4 separate regions of the Homo sapiens genome follow, and regions 1, 2 and 4 are each linked to region 3. Evidence: promoter capture Hi-C in 16 types of primary human blood cells and fetal thymus (Javierre and others, 2016). All regions are on one chromosome and are shown on one strand. The core of a region is centred on a gene start or on the middle of the fragment in contact, and the rest is flanking DNA. Distances in the headings are between cores, read along the strand shown.

Region 1 (4,331 bases), core at 180-2,679, 4.1 Mb after region 3:
CCTGGCAGTGAAACAAGTCACATGGCCTGGTGCCTAGATTTGTTCTTCTCTAGGCTGTTATTTCCATTATTTTCTTCACTTTCTTAGCCCTAGGTCCCTAAGAATTTCCCACTGAAGCAGATAACTTGGGAAATTGTTGGGGATCAAGGTTGAATGAAGAAGAGCAGACCTACAAAGCTATGGTAGAGTGGAAATGGGCATTTTTTTGTTTTTTTAAATTTTATTATTATTATACTTTAAGTTTTAGGGTACATGTGCACAATGAGCAGGTTAGTTACATATGTATACATGTGCCATGCTGGTGTGCTGCACCCATTAACTCGTCATTTAGCATTAGGTATATCTCCTAATGCTATCGGAAATGGGATTCTTTAAACAAAGTATGGCTGATGAAACTGGGTGGTATAGGCTTCAGTCTGAGTTCAGAGGGAAACCAGGAGCAAAAGTAAATTCGAAAGAGCAGATTTTCCCCAAACAGGGCCAATAGCAAGGCAGCTTTGTTTCCTGTCTCCTTTGTCTTGGTAGCTTTTTTCAGATTGAATGGGTGAGAGGAGAAGGGCTCTGGGGGTGGGGTGCCCAGGCAAGGCTAATCAGCTTTTCCAGAGCAATACTGCCATCAAGAGGATGTAGTTTGACAAAACACAAACCCAAAGTTGTTAGAGCCCCCCCAAGTTTTAGCAACTGAGAAATGTTGGGCCTTTTGTGAGGTTGAGTGGACCCTAGCCCTAAGTAGGTCCCCTTCACTTTAAATCTGAAGCCTTCCAGGAGCTCTGGACAAAGGCAGGATCCTGGGGGAGAAGCTGATAAGTGGGGGGTCAGGGGGAGGACTGAAGGGACAGCTACTAGGCAGGTGGAGTATAGGAAGTATTGGGGCTTAGATATCTACCCAGTGAGGGTGGGGCTAAAACAAATGGCTCAGATCCTATTTGGGGGGACTTCTGGCCACATATCCTCTGGCCATGCCCTTTGAACAATGAGGTAGGGGGTTGGCACAAGGTGTAAGCAATGTTAGGGTGCAGATGAAACATCTCATTCCAGATGATATCTAACAGCAGCCAGCGTGCTTTCTGGGGGTCTCAAGGATACCTAAAAGTCTGGTGCCCCCATTGCCTAGAGCAAGGAAGACCTGAGGAGAAGGCAGTGTGTGTCACTTGGCCAAGCCAATAAATCCTTGAACATCAATAGGAGTGCAGATATACACAACCAGAAGACCTGGAAGTATTTTCTGAAGCCAGGAGGTAACAGCTACCATGGCTTTGCAGCACTTTTTCTAGGGCCCAGTGTGAAGGCCTACCTATTTAGAGAAACCTACTCTTAGCTCTATTAAAGGAACAGAAATGAGTTCTTTAGCTATTGGCCTTCCCCTAAGGAAGATGAGGCCATTGAGACTTGGGACCTAACTGTTCATTCAGATTAGCAAGTATTGTTCTCTGTGCCTGCTTCTTAGCCTTTTTCTAATGAAGATTCCTTGTAAGCCCTCTAAAAGCTGAGCACATCAGGACCCTCAGGACACTTGCCCATAGCATAGCAAGAAAAGGCAAAAATTTTGTAAGATTGACTGCATGTGAGAGTTTTCTCGTGTATCAGTGATGGATTCAGTGGCTGACCACTTACAGAAGAGAAAGGAATGTTATTCTCATGCACTGCTGTAACATATGGTCACCACCTGAATTCTACTTGCCCAGGGTGGAGCTATAACATCTACTAGGAAGTTTTTAGCAACTACTACAAAGACCATAGGGTCCCTGGGGAAATTGACTTTCCTGCTATTCATGCCTTGGTCTAGCTGTCCTTGAGGATGTTATAGGTTGACATGAGCCAAGAAGGGTTTGAAAACATTTGAGAAAGCATGTCTCAATGGTCTCAAATACCTTATGAAAGTGTAAGGTGACCTCTGACCTTTTCAGCCTACTTCAGCTAAGCAGGTGACTGAGAGAAACCCTGCATCAGATGGGTTAGGCTGCCTGCTGTTGAGTCACAGTTTGACTTGACCATATGCTAGACTAGGAAAGCCAGATGTGTGGAGACAGTGCACCATAACTTAACTTAGAATTGTGAGTGACAGAGAGGTAGCCCCAGCCCTAGAATTCCTCAGGGTCAGGAATTTTGTATTCCCACACATTTTGGTTTACATTAAGAGACTATCTGGTCAGAGAGTGGATAGAGGCCTAAAGCAGCAGCAACTTGCTGAGTCCCAGGAATTCAAACGTGACACCGTGACCAGGAATGGGAGATTATAACTATTGCCAACTCTCAATACCACTCAATCATTGACAGTCAGCTCAGATCAAAAGCTGTTTCAAAATGTAGTTAAAAAGAAAACCACTCAGCAGGAAAGATGGCAAAGGAATAAGGCACCTCTATTATCACAGTCTCAAATTCACCAGTACTGAAGTAAATTGCAGTTCACTGTATTCTTCCATAATGCCCTTAAATCTTCATCATAACCCCGAGCAAGCCTTTGAAAAGGAATCCATTGATGTCAGTGTTTGTGTAATGATTTGTAGAATTGGACAAGGTCCTACCAGGTGAGAAGCACTGTTAATTGGTACACCTCTTTGAAGGTCAACAGGCCAAATCATTTAACCTTTCACATGAGCATACCCTTTGTCCAGAGACTACCTCTTGAAAGTGATCGCACAGCCAAACTCCCACAGGAAAGTAGAAAGGAGAGGACAAAGAGGATCGCTGAGATTTCTTTTGCAAGGATGGCGGTGGGGAGGGGGCAAAACATCCATTGTCCAAGTTCAACTACAGTAAGTTCAGCTATAGTAGGTAGTCTTTTTAAGCCTTTGGAAAGATTGAAATCCATTCGCCAAGTCCTCAATAGGGGAGATGACCACACCTCTGATTTAGGGAAGAAAATGTGAAATGTTGTAACGGGAATCAAACCATTCTGGTTGGCTAATAGCAAGGAAATAGAAATGAAAGATGAAGTCTTTCTTTCTCTCTTAATTACATATGTTATTAATTCAAGTTGAACACATAAACCTATTGGTTCAGAAAAGCAAATAGGCAGAAAGGAAGTTATCTGGAAAGTTCCCCAGTCAAGCAACTAACAGTGTGTAATTTTCTACAGTGATGTTTCTAATGACTTGCCTTCACGTTTTAACTTACACTTGTCCAAAGCCTTGAAATGTTGAAAATGAGAAAAGCTTACATTTGCAAGTTTTTTAAAAATCAAGAAACCAGCATCATCTCAATATATAATTAGGAAAACAACATATTACAAGATGTATTTTTCTTTAAAACATACACACTTCTACACACATGCAAGATTTAAAGGCTCTATTCTGAAATTCTATTTCCAAATTTTACTTAACAGAAAATCCAGCTTTCTGAAGCATATTTCACGACATATGATGAGACTTATGTGATGTGAGACCTGAGAAAACTATGATAGAAAGAAGCAACTCAAGTTGCAAGGATATTCCTCATGTATCATGCAAGGATATTCCTCATATATCATGTAAGTAAAAAGTCACCAAATCCTGACAACCTGTCCACATGTGCCCACACATGTACAATTATATAATAAAAAGAGCAGAATGCAATATAACAAACATCAATGGAATATCTATTAAACTTCTTAAGAGTATCATTTCTTTACTGCTATATATTTGTTCCACTTACTGATTTTTTTCCAGATGCATATAATTCTTACGGTTTGATCAACAGTAAAAGAATGCTATGAGATTTAACCATAAAAAACTATCTTGTTCCTCAAGAAAAGTTAATGATATTGGAGAGTACTCATTTTCTAGTGTTGAATTGAGAATTCAGGGCACCAAATTCTATGTGTAGTGGGACCAATGAGGATGGATTTGAAGAAAAGAAATGGAAGTGTGTGTGTGTGTGTGTGTGTGTGTGTGTGTGTGTGTGTGTGCGCGCGCGCGCGCGCCTAGCATTGTGCTGAGGAATGTGGGGAGTATATTAATGAGATATAGATTAAATTTATTTCACTGAATAACATCAGTTCTTATTGAACAGTTATATATCATTTTTTTAATGTTTAAACCAATATACTCATCAAGCTGCTAATAGTGGATGCCTCAAAAAAGTGGGATTTGTGATAAAGTGTTTCCATTTGTTCTTCATAGATTGTGTATTCTAAGAGATTTTTCAAGAAGCTGATAAGATATTTGTAATTTGAGAGTCAACCCAGAACAAATATGTGCAGAAGAAATTGTTGGTGAAAACTTGATTTGTTGGCTATTTGAGACCTAATATATTTATATATTTAACTGATCACAGAAAACAGGTGTATTCAAGACACCCACATTTTAAAAATCCTTATCTGCTTCAGTGGGCATTACTTGTGGCCTCACTGC
Region 2 (3,920 bases), core at 433-2,932, 4.0 Mb before region 3:
TTTCTAGACCTTTGATACATGAAAGCTTAATTGTGAGTGTGAAATACTGGAGTACATTTAAATCTCTGATTCTAGAAGCCCTTAAACTGCTTTGGTTTCATAAAGCATGTAGCATATAATCATAATATCACACAGAAGATGCCCAGGACTAGGAAGAAATTAGACTGCATAAGGAAGAATGGAAATTTAAAATAAGACTAAAAAATACAAAATAAGAATTAATGAAATAGGTAGCTAATTTATTGCTTTGAGTCCAAGGCAAGGCTAGTCTAATGAAGCAATATATGGAGGCAATTAAGAAAATAGTTCAGGTAATTGCTTTGTTTTTTCCCCAGGAGCAAGAAGGTTTTTAGTTTCCCCTTTAAACTATCAGAGTAATTAAACATTTTTTTTTTTCTGTTTCACTTTACTAATAATCCTGGCCTGACATTGACGAGCGGGAAAATATTGATTTTATTTTACTGTGTTTAGAAATATATCTGTATGTATGTATTGCAATATTTTTACATTTGCACAACTATTACAAATGGTCTGTGTATCTCGGCTCCCACATGGCTGTTCATAGAGGTCTAGGTTTAGCAGTTGAACTTGACCATACTTAAAAGCAACTTTTTTTTTTTAAATCATATTGTGTTATAATTGCCTTTTAACTTGTATGGCTCCCTAGTCTTTCTCAACATGGAGAGAATTGGCACTGATGCCCTAGGACATGCATTGTTAGTAATAAATTAACATTTTCCTGCGCAGCTGGAGTGAAGGAACCCTAATTGAGAAAGGCTGTCCTAGACAGGGACAGTTCACAGTGTGTTCTTAGCTCCTAGCACAGTGCCTGGTCCCTAGTAGGTGTTCAGTAAAATATTTTTTGAAAGAACAACTTTTGTATGTATCCCATAAATAATAACCTTTACTTACAGATAGTGATTATTGTAAACCCGCTCTTATGCAGAATGAGCAAAGAATGAGTTCTTGTTAGTTGGGGTATACCGTATACATTACTAGTATTCTAAGAATTAGAATAAATACATCTAATGCCGAAAGCTATACTGACCATAGTATAATCTTTTTTTTTTTCCTTTTTTTTGAGATTTATTATGGGAATTGGATCATGCAGTTACAGAGGCTGAGAAGTCCCAGGATCTGCCATCTGCATGAGCCCGGCCACAAAATATCCCCTTCTTTTATTTATTTTTATTTTTATTGTTATTTTTTTTGAGACAGAGTCTTACTCTTGTCATCCAGGCTGGAGTGCAATGGCACGATCTTGGCTCACTGCAACCTCCGCCTCACGAGTTCAAGCGATTCTCCTGCCTCAGCCCCCCTAGTAGCTGGGATTACAGGCGCCTGCCACCACGCCTGGCTAATTTTTTGTATTTTTTAGTAGAAACGGGGTTTCACCATGTTGGCCAGGCTAGTCTCGAGCTCTTGACCTCAGGCGATTTCCCTACCTCGGCCTCCCAAAGTGCTGGAATTACAGGCAAGAGCCAGCATGCCTGGCCTCTTTCTTAGATGATTAAGGCATTGTATGGTTTTGCAGAGCAATTATCATTCAGCAAATATTCACTGAGCACCTACTATGTGCTGGGCACTGCAGTCAATCCTGGGGTCGTAGATGAGCAAGACAGACAAGGTTCCTGTCTTCCTGAGCTGTAATTATCATTACATACACAACTATAGATATAGAGGGCATGGTAACTGCATTGCATTGAATACATTTGTGACATACCATGAAATTTGATCTTTGTGAATAAGTTACTATTACATACTTGTCATTTTTCTTTCTACTAAAAATAGATTGTACAATATCAGTTATTTTCTGGTTGTTTGGATGTCAGTTAAAAAGGAGTTTCTTGCATTTGTCTCCTTTCATCTGACCTACGCATGGCAAACTGCTCTTTTGCAAATAGATGCTAGGCTGACCCCACGCAAGGTGGGAAACTTATTTAGAAATGAACCACTGTAACTTGAAATAAATCTTTACACAAGTGAAAGCAGGTTTTGTCTTCTTTTTTCCTGATCTACCTTTTAGTGACTAAGCAACATAAAACTCTGAATGTGTCCTGAATACTTTCTGTAAGTGTTTACTGTTTGTTCCTTTTGTTTATGCTTATTGCTAATAATTCAGCCATTTAGTGAGTAATATTGAGTGCCTATATACCAGGTAGTTTCCAGTGTTCCTAATTAACTTTTAGCTGAATTGAGATTTGGGCAGGTGAAGCTGGCCATTTTTATATTGATGCAACTGTTCAAAAGAGCTTGTTTTTTCAAAAAGCTGCCAGTTTACCACCTGCTGAGCAGTGGGTTCTAGGAGGTAAAGGATGGCCAGTGGCCCCTGAAAGAACCATAACTAACCTTGCTGTGTCTGCATGATGTGCAAAGAACTAGCCCACTGAGTGAAATCAAATACTGGTTTGTTGAGTGATGGAAAAAATCAAGGCTCATTGCTTGTCTAACATGGTTATTCAGTTCTCTCAAAGAGGGTGAATGCATGGGATATAAAAAAAAAATACTATTTTTTTCTTCAAGGTGGTGGAATTTCCTGTACATCTGTAGTGCTTTATACAGATGAACCTTTTACATCTGGAACCCTCGAGACTGGGGGAGTTTTTCTGGTTAGGTGGAGGGAGGTTCTGGGCTTCCACAAATGAATTAGGTGCTGGCTCTCGAGTTTATTTCCTTTCACTTAACATTTACCTTCTTGGCCTGGTATAAGGGTAGATTAGCGGTGATCGTAAAACAAAACATACTGGCACAACTGCAGCATATGTTAACACTGCTGCAGCTTAATGATGAATGAGTGCTCAGCACTGCAGATATGGGCACAGGATGCCCTATGCCCACACATTGGCAGACAGCCCCTCAATTATTGCAGTGTATGGACGGATTACTGGGTCGGCTGACTTCTTGATAATAGAAGATGTGATTTATAAATGATAATGGACCGTGGATTTCCAGATTTAGAAGGTTAACCTGTATTTGTGAAGTAGAAATCATTGATTTCTTGTGCCATATGTATTTAATGGAATATGGGAGGATTGGTGATGTTGATGATATTGCTGTTCAAGCAGATATCATCATTTGTTTTTTAGACGTCTCTATTATATGTTGTCATAAAGTATTAATGTGGCAATGTTTTCCTAGTCCCTTTCTCTTTACCAAGGTATTCTTGGAAAAATCAGAAGTGTTCTTGAAAATGATCTTGCAGTTAGCACAGCATCAGGTAAACAGTAGATGTTCAATTAATACTTGTTTAATTGTTTTGAGCTGAATTGGTAACACAGTCTGAGTCAGTAATAACAGATGAAGAATGATCAGTTTAGGAAGCAGCCACCAAGAAGCTTATGCATTTCAGACTGGGCTACAAAATTAGCCAGGAGTGGTAGCACAGGCCTGTAATCCCAGCTACTTGAGAGGCTGAGGCGGGAGAATCACTTGAACCTGGGAGGCAGAGGTTGCACTGAGCCGAGATCGTGCCATTGCACTCCAGCCTGGGCAACAAGAGCAAAACTCCATCTCAAATAATAATAATCCTGTATGCTTACTATAAATACAGATTCCTGGGCCTTGAACTTACTGAATCCAAGTCTTGGGTGACAGACTCCAAGAAACTGTTTTTAACAAGCATTCCAAGTGGTTCTTAGGTTCACTAAAATTTGAGAACAGCAATATATAATATAGTAAACACGGAAATATTTATTTTCTGGGCACACTCTCTGTTCACCTTTTTGAACTTCAGTTTCTTCATCGATAGAATGGGAATAATAATACCTATTTCACAAGACTGTTGAAAAAAACGTTTGGTAGACTATTCAACACTATACCAATTGTGACAGAGGTCCTCAAAACCGGCCTAGGTTTGTTGATTCACTGGCAGAACTCAGTACATAGAAACGCTTGCGGATGTGATTTATTATAGCAAAAGG
Region 3 (4,346 bases), core at 939-3,438:
TGCACTTGACATCCATCAAGTATTGTGTAAAATTCTGGCTTAGAGGTGAAGAAATTGGAAAGGGCCCAGAAAAGAATAATGAACATGACTAAAGGTTTGGAAAATGAGATCCAGGACAAAAATTATATAAGTAAAGTTGAGGAAATATGATTAATTTTAGATGTCTTCTTCTACTTTTTTTTTTTTTTTTTTTTGGTTAGAGAAAGGGTCTCGCTCTGTCACTCAGCCTGTAGTGCAGTGGCATAATCATGGCTCACTGTAGCCTTGAACTCCTGGGATCAAGCAATCCTCCTTCTTTAGCTTCCCAAGTAGCTAGGACTACAAGCATGTGCTACTATGCCCAGCTAATGAGATGTCTTATTTGTTTTTCCAGCTTTGAGGAAGCTCAAGCATATCAGAAAATGTTTACAATCAAAAGGTTGTCAAAATGTGAGAGTACATGCAAGTCCATGGGGATTTTTGAGCCCAATTCAAAAGATTGGAAGGACTCTCTGTAGAGATCCTTTCAAATAGGGATACTGTCCCAATTATTTTCCGGAATTCATTTGTCATTCAACAAGCACTTATTGAATGCTTATCACATGACAGTCAAAGTTTTAGGTACAGAGAAATCTCTGTTCTCTCAGAGCTTACATTCCAGTGGGGAAAGACAGACAGTAAACAGTAACACAACAAACATAAATAGTTAAATTATATAGTATGTTAGAAGGTGATATAAAAAGTAGAACAGAATAAGGGGATCAGGAATAGGAATTTTGCACATTTAAAAGGGGTGGTCAGGATAGGACGCATCTTTGAGCAAAAGCAAATTGATGCAACTAAAACGTAGAATTCTGATTGGGTTAAAGGAAAAGAATGGTGATCATACTTTGCATTTACCTTGTGATATGCAGTTTACAAAGCTTTGCCACTCAGTCAGGGGTCACTGGAGGAACTGGTGCAGAATTTGGAAAAAAAGGATGAATTCCATTTTAGCCATATTACGTTTTAAGTGCCACAGGAAATAAATGCCTATCTGGTAGTCAGAAATGCAGCCCTGGAGCTAAGGAGAGATATTTGTGATAGAGATGTCGATTTGGAATCACTGTAATACCTTTGCTGGCTGAAGCGGTGGGAATGAATGGGTGAGCTCCCCAGGGGACAGCAGAGTGATGAGGTCAAGGGGAGAAGCTCACTATTAAATGTCTACATTTCAGGAGATGAAGACAAAGAAAAATGGGCAGAGGAGTATACATTTTACCCGGATCAGAGATAGAGACAAGGCAAGAAGGCTGCGTTATTAGCATTTTAAAATTTCCTCTTTCATTTCTTCCTTAATGTAAGCTGGTTCTTTTCACGACAAAACACTCCCCCCGCGCTACACCTCTTTTTGCGCGAATCTTTCTCCAGGACCTTAAAATGGTTTACTGAGCACTTCCCGCGAGCCAAGTATTTGGGGTTCCAGATCCTGGGATTTTGTCCTGACACTGCCTCCTCGTTTTAACACCCTTGCCTCCTTCTGCAGTGCCAGTTTCCAGGGAGCTGAAGCACAGGAAAGGCCTACAGAAAACAAAAGGCACAGTTTCACAAAAAGCCAAAACCAACCAACCCACAAAACACAACTGTCAGGGGTCTATATCCAGCACCTACCGCCTTTCCCCAACGCCCCCAGCCCCGCCCCTCGGCCCCACCTCCTCCCGCCCCTCGGCCCCACCTCCTCCCCGCCCCCTCGGTCCCACTCCTCCGCGCCCCCTCGGTCCCACCTCCTCCCCGCCCCTCGGTCCCACCTCCTCCCCGCCCCCTCGGCCCTCACCCACTCTCCGTCCCCTCCGCCCCGCCCCCTACGCCCCACCCATCCTCCCGTAGGCCCCGCCCTCGGCCCCACCTCCTCCCCGCCCCTCGGCCCCACCTCCTCCCCGCCCCTCGGCCCCACCTCCTCCCCGCCCCTCGGCCCCACCCATCCTCCCCGCAGGCCCCGCCACTCGACCGCACCCACCAGGGCCCCCCCCCCCCGGCTACGCCCACCCACCCACCCACTGGCCCCGCCCCTCGGCTACACCCACCCTCGTGCGGGCCCCGCGCGTCTTCCCCACCCCGCCCGTCTGCCTACCCCGCCCCTCGCCCCCACACGTTCTCTACGCAGGCCCCCGTCCCTCTGCCCCACCCTGTTCTCGCCACTGGCCCTGCCCCCATTTGCCGGCGCCCTTCCTCTTCGCTTCCCCGTAGCTCCCGCTTTCGCCTCTTCGTTTATGACTCCGTTGGGCTCCGGCCCTCCTAGAGAGGCCTCCATAGCGCAGGTTCGTGGGTTCTCGCGGACCTTTTTCCGTGTAGCTTTCTGCTTCTTCCCGGCATTCCTGTTTCCGTTTTCTCACAGCCCTCTGGCTTTTCCACCACTGAGACACTTTGCGCTCAGGACTTCAGTGACGTCATCTTTCTGCGGCGCGCGGACACCCGCCGGTGGAAGAAGAAACAGCTCCGCCGTCCTTCGCTTCTTTTGCTGGGCTGCTGCTCCTTCGGCATCATGGCGCCGTCGCTGTGGAAGGGGCTGGTGGGCATCGGTCTCTTTGCCCTAGCCCACGCCGCCTTTTCCGCTGCGCAGCGTAAGTGCCTGGGGCACGGGGACCGCTTCGGTGTGGAACCCTAGGGGCGGTGTGTGGGCGCACTTCTAAGGGACCATCGGACCGAGTGTCAGATTAATGGTCCTTTGAGACCTTACAGTTTGGGGTGACTAAGAAAATCAGTGCAGGAGTTCCCAGTGGAAGGTTCGGAGTTTGAATTTGGAGAGAGTGTGGCACCTGAAATTGCAGGAAGGTTGGAAGGAGGTGTCTGGGAGAGGGTTCAGAATAGGAGTCTCCAGGAATCCAGGACAAGTGATGTCAGATCCAGCATGGGGCAGATCAGGCACAGTTGTGAGATTGAGGACTCTGGTTGCTCATGGTCCCACGACAACCAAGTGGACAACATCTTGGGCACTCTTGGGCTGTCCAGGCAGAGACTGAGTAGTTAAGTGACCGATTGCCTCAGGGAGGCACTGTGGTACAGGAGAAAGAGCACTGGACTGGGAGTCTAAAGGACTGGTTGTTAAAAACTTGCATTACCGCTACATCTGTGTGACGTTGGGCAAAAGATTTGTGCTACACTGCGTTATGAAATTCAGTTTTGGGTCGCTGTTTGAAATTGCGCTGTGTTTAGGTGCTAGAGATACAGTGATGCCCTGAGCCAGTTCAAAGTCTAAAGGAAAACAAGTGGATCAAGAAGTAGTTACAATAAAGTGATATGCTAAAAGTATATAAGGATGCATGGAAGCAGGGACAGTCATATTTTGGGGGAACTGGGAGGTTAAGGAAAGTATCCTAGATCCTTGCTGCTTACAGTGTGATCAACAGACCAGCATCATGAGCACCACCTGGCAGGTAATTAGAAGATACTCAGGCCAGACCTGTTCAATCAGAATCTGGGTTTTAATAAGATCCCAGGGTGATTTGTATGCGCATTAGTTTGAGAAACACTGTCCTGGAAGAGATTAGGATACACTGGAGTACTGTGTCATTTTCTACAGTAAGCTTTAACTGTAGAATTATATGATTGTGGGGCGAGAAGGGCCTTTGGAGTTCACTGAAGTCCAACCCCTTCATTTTACAGATGAGGAAATTCCTGGTTAAAGGTAGTGTTAGAAGCAGGCGAGGCTTCATGCAAACTAGCAAGCTAGCTAGGAATTGAACCAGATAGGAGATTAGTCAAAATCGATTTTTGGTGTTGGTTTGATGTTTCTTTTACACTTGTCTTTATGACAGAGCTGTAGGTTAAAACTTAAGAAATGTCTCTAAACACATTCTTCTTCAAGAGTCAATACACATGCACTCAAAAACAGTTTGAATTATTTAGTCCAAAGTACGTTATTAAATAGGGATTGTCCTAGGTTCATCTAGAATTAAGATTTTTGTATTTTATGTTTTGGGTGATGAGAATGCCTTGTGGATTTGCCACTGCAGTGAGACCTCTTTATATATAATGCTCATGTTAGGGAGAGAGTAATATGTAACTTTAAGACTAAGTGTGTCATGTCAGACTGTAGCAGCAGATAGCACAATGTGGTGCTGTGGCATGCTCATCTTTGCTGTAATGAACTTTGTTACAGTAGGGCACCAGTCATTTACTGTATCTTGTTTAATCCTCACCTCACATTATTCTCATTTTACTGTTGTGGAAATTCAGGTAATGAAAAAAATAGATACTGTATTTCTTTGATTCTAAGACACCCACCATTTTAACACTCTGAACTTGAGATATGTATTATGATCACTGCGGGCTTCTTTAATTAAATGAAATTATAGTAAATTGAAGAGCTGGCACTGATTTAGGCTTAC
Region 4 (4,469 bases), core at 1,589-4,088, 4.0 Mb after region 3:
GAGGGAGAAAATAATTGTGGATAAAGTAATTTTCTTTGTATTTCTGGAAAAATCATTTTTCCCATCAATCTTCATAATTCTCTAAAATAAACTGTTAAAAAGTTATAGGCTGGTCGGCTACCTCACCCTGATTTGTGGAAACACTATACAGTAATTTCAAGAACACATGGCTAACTGAAGTTTTCTAAAGGTCTAAAAGTTGCTCCTAACGCCTTCATAAAACTCTAGGAGAATTTTACAAGCTCACGATAGATTTCTGCATCTCATCTGCAATATTTTGCTACATAACAATAATAAAAATAGTCTAGCTTCAAGAGTCACACTGCATGCTATCAAATTTATTATTAAGGTATTGTACATTTTCAACTATGGAAAAAACTGTGTGCTGCACAAAGTGCTTAAGAACTACATTAGAAATAAAATGGAAATAAGAAGTTAAGAATTTACCATTTCATTAAGATGAAGAGAATGACCAAAAAAAAAAAAAAAAAAGATTCCTCTCTTCTTTGCTAACGTTGAGATGTTTGCCCTACTCAAATTAGGTGGGACAAAGTAATCACAACTCAGAGGGCACAGAGTGAAAGGCAGAATTTGTAATTTAAAGTATATGATTCACATTCGAATCCACATTAATTAAGATTTAAAAATTCAAGAGATAGGCAACTCAGATAATTAAAAGCAGGGAGCAATCAGAAATACTGAACAGCAAGCAGTTCCTAAACCATATAAATTCAATAAGTTCAAGACAAATAAAATAAAAATCAGAAACCATTTTCCCCTCAGCACACAGAGTTCCCCAGAATCACAAACTTGATGAACTGGAGGCACTCACTCTGCTGACGCACACACGCAGGCTCGCGCACACAATGGAGCGAGAAGCATGGAGACCCTCAGAGACAAACTTCACATGTGCATCGTTTTACTCTCCACAGAATGGAAAGAAGAGCACGGTGAGAAAATGTCACTTTTTCCCAGATCAAACAGCAAAACTGTACTTAGTATTGTGAACTATGAATTCCCTTGATACAATCAAAGGCAGAACTGAATGAATGGGGTGTGGGGCAGGGTGCGTGGGGAAAAGAAGGAGGGAAGGAGAGGGGAGGCCGCCTGAGAGGAAGAAAGTTTAAGGCATTTTGCAAGGCTTGAGTGGATTAATCTTTTTTTTTAAGCCCTACTATTTCCTATTTCCCTTTCTCTCTCTCTCTTTATTTAATATACACTAACTTCCTGAGACTCAACCCAGACTTGCCCTAAATGCAGCTGAAATGTCTGGTGTTTAGGACACACCAAGAGTTCTAGGTGCACAAATAAATCCCATTTTGGGAAAGAATTTAAAAATCACTTTTGTGGACATTCATAAAATGAGAACACTGAAAAAAAAAAAAAAACTCCATGTATCAATAAGTAAATTGAGGCCCCAGTCTACAGCTCTTTGATTTCTACTAGAAATATAAGCTATTTACTATAAACATTTTATTTTTGAACTTCAAAAAAGTTTGTTTTCACATTTTAGATCATGAAAGACTGAGGCTTCAGTGGTTTTAGCCCCTAAATGGGTTGTTTAGGCCATCTAGCAAAGGAAAAAAAAATAGAACATGAATGCTTTAAAAAGTTAGTAAATTTGGATAACACTTAGCAGATAGCCTAAAATGCACCGATTTAAAAACATAACAGCATAAAAAGTTTTCTGACATAGCTTATCTTTAATAAAATGAAAATATAATGGGAGGGGGTTGGGCTGGGTAGACTTCGAGTAACAAGTTGGGTCCCATGCAGTAGTCCCTTGTCCAAGACAAAAAGCTTCCTTTAACCACATGTAACAGTCATCTTGTGGGAAAGGCACGGAGGGGGCTGAGAAGTCATCACCTCAGTGACTCTGAACAGAACCAGCATTTCTCACGCCACACTATGGGCTGGGCTAGGTCGGGGAGCAAGCTACAACTTTGCCCTTAAGCAGCAGTACCGAAAGGGAGAAAGAGGTCACCTCTCTCTTAGCCCTACGCACACAGGAAGAGCCCAATTCAAGCCGCCGCCGCCGCCACCCCTGGTGTTGCCCCGCCCCAACTTGAGTGTGTGTTTGGGGTGGGGGGTGTAGGGCACTCACTACTCGCGTTATACCCCACAAATTCCAAGGCACTTCCATCTCTCCCAGGTTAAGTTCCGCCCCCCCATCCCCAACCGTGCCAAGCTCAGCAGGCGCAGGTGTCTGTGGCTCTGGCCTATTTTTATACCCCCAACCGCCCTCAATCTCCACCTAGTTGCGCGCTCCAGTCCCGCCTCGCCTTCCCAGCGAAGAGCACTACCTAGCCTACACACCAGGAAACACCTCCAGCCCTACTCCCAGGTCACCTGGCCATAGTGACCGGCCCTGCCCTCAGGGGAGCCCTGGGGCCGTCCCTTGTCGCCGGTGCCCAGCACCGAGGGCGCACCGGGCTCCCAAGCAGTCACGTGGGCGGCGGGGGCGGCCTGCGCTTCCTCACCTGCATCCCAGGCACTTGGACAGCCACCGGCGAGTGGGCCATGGAGGCGAATGCTGCCTCGCTCCGCTTCTGCGGCGGTGGCGCCTTGGGTTCGGACTGGCTCCTCCCTCCGGGGGTAGTTCGGCGGCCCTCCCAGGCTTTTCGATCGGGGCCTGGGAGGACACACAAAAGTGGGGTTACTGGGCTGGCGGCGCGTAGCCCGGGGCTAGGAGGTGGGCTGTTAGCGGCGCAGCTCCCTGGGACTCAGTCTACCTTTCTGGCGCCCGCCCGCCGCTGAAGCAGCCGCCTCCGCTGCTGCTCCTCTTCCTGAACGCCGAGCGCTGTGAGTGGTGGTGGCTGGGACCTGGGCTCGAGTGATGCCGCTCCTCTGCGCCTCGCCGCTTTAGGAAGAGGAGGTGGAGGCGCCCCAGCCACCCGCCTGCTCGCCTGGCCTGGGAGGCGGTTGGGGGCGGTTCCGCCGTTGGCCCTGCCCCCGCCCCGCAGCCGGGCGGTGTCGCGGGAGCCAAGGCTCCAGGCAGCGAAGAGGTTTGGCTGGGGTTGCTGGAGTCTGAGAAGCTGGAGACTCTCCCGGCACGCGGAGAGGAGAACCCGGGGACCCGGAGACCTGGGACATGGCTGGGCCTGGGAAGAGAATGGAAGAGTTTGGGAAACCCTGAGGGTATGAGGGCGCCCCAGATGCGGCCACGTTGCAGGGAGGCGTGCGAGGCTGGGGCACACGCAGCCTCGGAGACGACTTGAGCTGAAACTTGGGGAGTGTTGGAAGTCTTTCTTGGCTCCCCGGCCTGGCCAAGGGTAGGATTACAGATAGCCGCGGAGTCGGTGGACCCCCGCTTTTTCCCGCCATCTGGTCTCCTCAGCTGGGGGTCGCGCCTCTGGGCAGATCTGTGGCCACACTCTTGCTTTCCGAGTTCCCTGACCCCAAACATGCTTCAGGTGACTTCAACTTAAGGTTCCCCCTACCTCCTGGGCTATCCCTTGCAGAACGGCCAAACTAGGGCTTCTCTCTACCACAAGTTCTGCACGTGTAAGGCAGAGGGAAATTGGAAAACAGATGGTACATCGGCAGAAAAATTAATGAGGATAGTAGAGGCTTGGGAAATGAGATTGGATCGTTAGCAGTACAGGTTATTGAAATCAGCATACACTGCAGTGGTTTTGGTAACTCCCTGCCTCCGCCCCATTTTAAGTTCTACTCCAGGAGAGGGAGACAGGCTCTTTTGAGAGTACTCTAACAGTAGCGACAGTAACACTGGTAATAATAGTAACAGGAATTTCATTATGAAGGCACCTTTGGGAACACGTAAGGGGTTAATTACTTTTTAAAAAAGTAATAGTCGAGTGCCAGTTTAAAATGAAGATGAAGTTCCTTACCTTGAAATTTGTTATGGGTCTCTACGCACCACACGGTGGGGGGCCTCTAGTGGTAAAAGATAGTTTCTCTTCTTCCTTTTAAATCTTTTTCAGAGAATAGTATATAATTCTTATCAATATCGTTATTATTAATGGATATTATTTTCATTGTGCCAGGGACTGCTAAGTGCTTTCTATGTGTTATTAATACCTTACTGAACCTGTACAAGGGCCTTCTGGAGTCTTATTGATTTCCCCTCATTTTACAGATGAAGAAAAAGGCTCAACCAGGTTAAATAATTTGACCGAAATGTCACGCAATTAAGAAGTGGTACAGCTGGGAATTCAGACGCAGGTCCCTCTGACTGGTGATAAACTTACTACTTTCTCTATGGTTTCTGTTTGTGTTTAATGATGATAAAAGGTACAATTGCATTTTCCTTACTCCTAGTTCCCCAAGTCCAGCCCTTCACTATTTCTAACCTAATGTTAGGCTCCAATCTAGTCTCGATTTCCCACCAACCCAGCTCACAACATTGCCAGCCTGACCGGAAACCTGCAGTGCCACCTAAACTTTTAATGTCCATAGAAATCCGAGGGTTCTTTTGCTCCCTCAAAAGCGCAGATTTTTATCTCCCA

The links. The method cuts DNA at HindIII sites, captures the fragments that hold promoters and counts their contacts. A CHiCAGO score of 5 or more calls a contact.
Region 1: a contact is called between a fragment that was not itself captured here and the fragment with the promoter of MMGT1 in region 3, in 1 of 17 cell types (monocytes). The highest score is 7.3, in monocytes.
Region 2: a fragment that was not itself captured here is called in contact with the fragment with the promoter of MMGT1 in region 3 in 1 of 17 cell types (activated CD4 T cells); the score reaches 5.3 in activated CD4 T cells.
Region 4: a contact is called between the fragment with the promoter of STK26 here and the fragment with the promoter of MMGT1 in region 3, in 2 of 17 cell types (non-activated CD4 T cells and naive CD4 T cells). The highest score is 5.9, in non-activated CD4 T cells.

The regions. Positions count from the first base shown.
Region 1 is chrX:131,824,360-131,828,690 of GRCh38, reverse strand. FIRRE (firre intergenic repeating RNA element) reads left to right here. Exons shown (of 10, transcript NR_152876.1): 2 at 3,326-3,469. Among named protein-coding and RNA genes, the nearest start is that of FIRRE, 4.1 kb to the left of the region's middle. RefSeq lists an enhancer at 2,129-2,629. The HindIII fragment of the contact is 3,457 bases long and covers 1-3,157 here.
Region 2 is chrX:139,924,896-139,928,815 of GRCh38, reverse strand. All of the region lies in intron 1 of ATP11C (ATPase phospholipid transporting 11C (ATP11C blood group)), which reads left to right. Among named protein-coding and RNA genes, the nearest start is that of MIR505, 2.6 kb to the right of the region's middle. The HindIII fragment of the contact is 3,310 bases long and covers 28-3,337 here.
Region 3 is chrX:135,971,830-135,976,175 of GRCh38, reverse strand. It overlaps MMGT1 (membrane magnesium transporter 1), which reads left to right and starts at 2,188. Exons shown (of 4, transcript NM_173470.3): 1 at 2,188-2,579. The coding sequence starts at 2,501. It also overlaps a transcript of SLC9A6 not described here. RefSeq lists a silencer at 1,990-2,099 and an enhancer at 2,110-2,639. The HindIII fragment of the contact is 2,640 bases long and covers 905-3,544 here.
Region 4 is chrX:132,021,671-132,026,139 of GRCh38, reverse strand. It overlaps STK26 (serine/threonine kinase 26), which reads right to left and starts at 2,838. Exons shown (of 12, transcript NM_016542.4): 1 at 2,733-2,838; 2 at 2,481-2,632. The coding sequence starts at 2,522. RefSeq lists enhancers at 2,157-2,226, 2,196-2,743, 2,597-2,756, 3,207-3,256, 2,744-3,290 and a silencer at 2,797-3,046. The HindIII fragment of the contact is 2,994 bases long and covers 1,803-4,469 here.